Regions from separate parts of the Homo sapiens genome. Here region 2 is linked to region 1. The links are contacts of gene promoters, found by promoter capture Hi-C in blood cells and fetal thymus (Javierre and others, 2016). All regions are on one chromosome and are shown on one strand. The core of a region is centred on a gene start or on the middle of the fragment in contact, and the rest is flanking DNA. Distances in the headings are between cores, read along the strand shown. Region 1 holds the start of BOLL (boule RNA binding protein). Region 2 holds the start of MOB4 (MOB family member 4, phocein).

Region 1 (2,736 bases), core at 185-2,684:
GCCCGACTGGGCTGAATGGCAGGTCCTGACCAAGCCACCCGCGCGGCCCCGCCCGCCTGGCGGGATGAGTGACGGCGGCAACAGGTGCAGAGCGGCGTCCGCGGCTTCTCGGGAGCCCCCGAGTTTTGCGAGTCAGGCCCCGAGAGTCAGAGTTTGACTCTAGAACCTTCTTCGCTTTACACCAGTCTTCGGAAGTCGCCCGTCAACCGGCTTCTTCTACCTCAGTAAAGCCTTAAGGTCACCTCAACCTCTCGAAACCCACCAGTCCCAGAGGCCGACTCTTCTCAAGTGGAGGAGAGGGGAAGGCGTGCATGGAGCTTTGCCTGACCGCTCGCTCTCTCCTCCCCAGCCGTCTGAGAGAAGGCGAGAGGGGTCCCAGAACCGAGCCCTCGCTCCGCACGCCCCACGCCCGCCCCGCTGTGCCGTGCGCTCTGCCCCTGAGACGCCCCGGCTCGGAGTCCCAGGGCCACAGCCGAAACTCGCCCTCCCGCGCCCCTCTCCGGCTTGCAGCGCCCGCCCGCACCGCCACCTGCCACCCGAGGCGACGCAGTCCGCTTCTCCCCACCCGCCAGGTGGCAGGTTCAGGGCCGGGGTCCGAGCCTGCTTCCCTGCAGCTGCCACAGCCACCCTCGCCGCCAGGGGGCGAGAGTCCCAGGCAGGACAAGCAGCGCTGCTGCCTTGGCGTGAAGGTGGTTTCAAACTTTAGGCTTCTTTTCCCTACCCCGCGTCTCTGAAGAGCAGAGAGGAAGATGGAAACCGAGTCCGGGCCGGTGAGTACGGCGATCAGGGCCCCAGGGCGCGGGATAGCGGGGAGAAGGAGCAGCGTGGAGCCTGTCCCTGAGGGCTTGGAGGGGCGAGGTGAAGGCCCCAAACGCTCGCTATCTGGTTGGGAAGAAACGTGGCCAGGTGCCCCATCGACCGCTGCCAGGAGCCACCCGCCCGCAGACCTCGTCTGGCTGTGTCATGGGGGTCAGAAAGGCGCCGCCACGGGGCCTGGACTGGGTGTAGACGGGCCAGGGGACCTCAGGCGTGGATGTTTCGGGAGGCGGCGGGCTGCCAGGCACCCAGCGAAGTCCGAGCAGGTAAACCGCTTTCCCGCCGAAATTGGGCTAGGCAGCGTCTTTGACGCTCCCTGCGGCCGAACTCGACCCAGCCGCCCAAGGCGAGGAGTTGCCAGGGCGGTCGACGCCTCCACTCCCCGACTGGTCAGCGAGGACCGGAAGGTCTGAGAGACCTGGCAGGGCCCGCCTGTGGCCCAGGCGGGACCCGGACACTCTAGCCCTGGCTGTGCACCCAAGCCAGTCAGGGTGGACTTGGGGAAGTGAAGGAGGACTGCCCGCACAGGCCCGAGGCGCAGCGGCAACGTGCCATCCCGCCCCGCCCCGTCCCGCCGCCAGCAGCCAATCAGGGAGCGCCGCGCGAGGGTGGGGACCAGCTGCGCACGAGGCCAGCGGCGGGGTCGCTGCCGTTGAGGCTTCCCGCCACTGCTGCTGGCGGATTTGTGGGGCAAAATTTCTCGCTGGCTAGCCTTCTTTTCCCTCCCGCACTTTGGTGGGGAGGGGGTGGATCCTCGTTTCGGTGCCCAAGTTCACGATGACCCGAGAGAACTCGAGGAAGTTGTCGCCGCGGCCATTTCCCCCAGTGCCGCAACTTGCTGGCCTTGGAGGGGGAGGAGCGCCGAGGCAGTGACTGCGACGGTTAGCCCGCCCGTTCCTGCTGTCTTCGTTTGCAAAATAGATGCTAGATCTCGAGGTTGATTCTCAAGGGGAGGGGCCAGTGAGGGCACATTGCTTTGGAGGAGTAGTTTAATAAACTCTCTAGTGCTGGAAGTTTTAGCAAACGGAGGAGCCTTCAAACCCGGCAACAGTCCCCATCTAGGTGTTTCCGTAACACATGCGGAATTATTGCTAGTGGAATTTCAGGCTTTCTTTGTTGTTTAACTCAATGCATCGCTAATTGTTTATAATGAACTTAGATGTTGCCTCCACCTGAGCCTTGCTATTGCTAACATTAAAATATTTTGTAGGCCTGGCGCGATGGCTCCCGCCTGTAATCCCAGCACTTTGGGAGGCCAAGGTGGGCGGATCACGAGGTCAGGAGATCGAGACCATCCTGGCCAAAATGGTGAAAACCCATCTCTACTAATACAAAAAAATTAGCTGGGCGTGGTGGTGCGCACCTGTAGTCTCAGCTACTCAGGAGGCTGAGGCAGGAGAATCTCTTGAACCAGGGAGGCGGAGGTTGCAGTGAGCCGAAATCACGCCACTGCACTCCAGCCTGGCGACAGAGCAAGACTGTCTCAAATATATATATATATATATATATATATATATATATATATATATATATATATATATATATGTATTAGACTGCTGTTATACTGTATTCTTTAGCCTTCAGCCTATTTGGCATATCATGAGCAGGTCTCTCCTGAAGAAATGATTCACTTTTAGTCATTCAACAGATATTTATTGAGCACCTGCTGTGTACTGTCAGTACTTTAGATGCTGCCATGAAAAAAGCAAAACTTCTGCCCTGGTGCATTACATAATAGTGGAGACAGATAATAAACATACTAAGTAAACTATATCGTATGTTAGAAAATGATGAGGGAGAAAACTTAAGCAGAGCGAGCCCACAATAGAGCCTTAGAGAGTGGAGGAGAATGAAGTGAATTGAGTGTGAAAGGTTGTTTTTCTTTTCTCAGGGAGTATCCTTTAGTTTCTCGAGATTGGA
Region 2 (2,963 bases), core at 9-2,508, 270 kb after region 1:
TGACTCCAAAATAAGACTTTAAAATTTTCTCTGAAATTCAGCACTAGAAGCAGCTTGTTAAAGAGAACAGGTCACCAGTGAATTAAGAATCAGGAGACTATGTATCCTTGGGCAAATCCACTTAATTCTCTTGGGCTTCAGTTTCCTTATCTGTAACATGAATCTGGGGAGGTAATCAATACCTGTATGCCCCCTTCGAAAGGTGTTCTTTCCATAATTCTGTATAAGAAATTAAAATCTATTCTCAGACATACAATCATAGCTCCACGATTGTTTTGTTTCAATTTTCATTTGCATCACTTTTTAACATTTTATAAACACATCTCTTCCGATTTCAGAGCATCTAGTCTATAGCAAGCCATTTCGGCTAGCAATTAATCAGTTCAAGTCTGGATGCCAATTTTATTTATTTATTTTTAATGTGAGGCATCCCATCTTTTCCAAACCCTAAGAAACAATGCCTAATCAAGCACCAATTTACCACACATAATGCCCTACAAAAAAGCTGACAAAATTATAATCAGTTCATTCTCTGACTATGCTTCACGCATATTAGCAAGGAATGACATCTAACAAGTCACAACTTAGTGATGAAAACTTGCTGGACCAGAGAACAGCTCCAGGGAAAGCGGCAGGGAGAGGTGGTCAAAGGGAAACAAGGAGGAGAATATCGGCACCCGGATCCGGCTAGACAAGCTGGATGGCAGGAAACGGGTAGGTACTTCCCAGGCCAGGTAGGAACTGGACGCCGGGTCGAGGTAGGCTGTGTTTACACCCCCTCCCACCTCAGCGGCCCCGACCTTCAGGAAACCCCGGGGGTCTCCACCAGGCTGGTCGCGCCCCTCCAATGCTAGTCAGCTGGGGCTCAGGGGCAAGGCGAGAAGAAGCCGTTGCTGCTGACAGGCTCGCAGCCCAGGGCTTCGGCAGGCAGGTACCACCAGCAGACCCCACCCGCCCCTCACGCCTACCCCTGGGTCGGAGCTCCGCAGGCCTCACGGCGGCCGCCACCGCCTCAGCCAAATTGAGGGGCTGCAGCTCCGGAAGAGCAGGCCGGGCACCAGTGCCCCAGCCCGCCCGCCTGCCGCCTCGGCCCAACCTCCCCGCAGTGGCGGCCAGCTTCCGGGCGCAGCACTGCTCGGCACCTAGTTGCCCGACAAGAAAAGTGCAGACATGGTACCTGCGCCTTGGTGCCCGGCCTGTTCCGCCTCAGCACTGCCGTCCCCTCCGCCATGACCATAGTGCCAGCGTCTAGGCGGCTGGAGTCGGTACCCGGATGTAGGGACGGCAGCCTGCGCGGGGGGCGGGGCAGAGCGGCGCTCTGCGTCTGGGAGGAGGAGCGGCAGCTGACGGAACAGCTGCAGCCTGCGCCGGGAGCCGTCCGGGTAGAAGCGGGCTAGGCGGAGGGAGAGGGCGAACGAGGAACAGCCGGACGGCGTCGGGTGGCTACTGGCAGGGACTGAGGCACCGGAAGGCGGGCGCCACGAGCCTCTTTGCGAGGGCTGCGGGGCGGTTTGAAAGGTCGTGATCGCAGCGACCGCTGCGGCAGTGTGCACGGCTGCGTTGCACGTTGGTATGGGCTCTCGTTAGTTACACGGGAAGAACGAACTTCGTATAGTGGCGACCGTTTCAGTAAACCCACCTGCAAGCAAATACTTAGAGAACCGTAATTCTGTCCCAGAAGCCACCTAAGGAATCAGGGTAGAAAACAGGCCAGCAGTCTTGGCAAATTCTATAGAACCTGCGTGAAATCGACCCAATCTGAAATCAGACGGGGGATTTGAGTGTCAGTGTTATTTACGCCATCCGGCGACTTCAAAGCCAAGGACTTTTTCAATGACAAGTTTGTTTACGTAGATAAAAGACGCAGATGTCAATTATGTGAGATGAAGAGTGGACATCTGGTTTTGTGCGTTAGGCAGACAGATTTAGCTCGTGTTTTTCAAGTCAGAAGCAGGAGGAGGAAATTAGTAGTCCTTGACAGGTGGTGAGGGTTTTACATCTTACAGGATTCCACATTTCCTTTGTTGCAAATTTTAAGTGTTCTCTCTTAAGAAACCACAGCATTTTCGCAAACTTTTTTTCCTGCTTAGAAACCTTGAATCTTTTATCTGGGGTGAGGGAGGCCTTGGGATAGCAGATGGGAAGACAGTTCAAAAAGTAAAAAACGCATACAGTAGCATGATTTCCAAAAGAAGAAAACATCAAGTGTCCCTAGATAGAAGGTGTATTGAGAATGCTGAGGGAAGGGCCATGTAACAGCTTCCAGAAATGGAATTTGAGAGGAGAGGAGAGGTTGAGTGGGTCTCTAGCTGAGTAATTGTCAGTGACTTAGAACTAGGCATTGAAGGGTTTAACAACAGGAAGTTGGTTCTCTCTGGAAGATGTATTGACTGGTAACTCTTCAAGAATAGGGACTTAATTTTGCCCTCCCAGAACCAGCGTCTACATATGAAAAGATTATTCGTTCAACAGATACTCATTAAGCCCCACTATATGGTAGGCACTAATGTACAAGTATGATAAGGCTCAGTCCTTCACTACAAATTGCCTTGACTCCAGCAACAGAGACGTGCAAATCACAAATTCTTATACAGGTTAAGTACCCCTCATCTTAAAGTTTGGGACCAAAACACTTTCAGATTTCTGATTATTTTGGATTTTAGAATATTTGCATATACATAATGAGATTTCTTGGGGATGGAACCTAAGTTTAAATGTGAAATGCATTTGTTTCCTATACACCTTACACACATAGCCTGAAGTTACTTTTATACAATACTTTAAATAGGCCGGGAGCGGTGGCTCACACCTGTAATCCCAGCACTTTGGGAGGCTGAGGGGGGCAGATCACTTGAGGTCAGGAGTTCCAGACCAGCCTGGCCAACATGGTGAAATCCCATCACTACTAAAAATACAAAAATTAGCCAGGCGTGGCGGCAGGCGCCTATAAAACTTCAAATAAT

What was found. Contacts are between HindIII fragments. The CHiCAGO score rates a contact against its expected background, and 5 or more counts as called.
Region 2: the fragment with the promoter of MOB4 here is called in contact with the fragment with the promoter of BOLL in region 1 in 4 of 17 cell types (megakaryocytes, erythroblasts, activated CD4 T cells and 1 more); the score reaches 7.6 in megakaryocytes.

What each region holds. Positions count from the first base shown.
Region 1 is chr2:197,784,017-197,786,752 of GRCh38, reverse strand. BOLL (boule RNA binding protein) reads left to right here and starts at 1,434. Exons shown (of 11, transcript NM_033030.6): 1 at 1,434-1,697. RefSeq lists an enhancer at 29-258. The HindIII fragment of the contact is 5,410 bases long and covers 1-2,736 here.
Region 2 is chr2:197,514,361-197,517,323 of GRCh38, reverse strand. MOB4 (MOB family member 4, phocein) reads right to left here and starts at 1,258. Exons shown (of 8, transcript NM_015387.5): 1 at 1,178-1,258. The coding sequence starts at 1,237. All of the region lies in intron 2 of HSPE1-MOB4 (HSPE1-MOB4 readthrough), which reads right to left. RefSeq lists a silencer at 1,200-1,419. The HindIII fragment of the contact is 18,120 bases long and covers 1-2,963 here.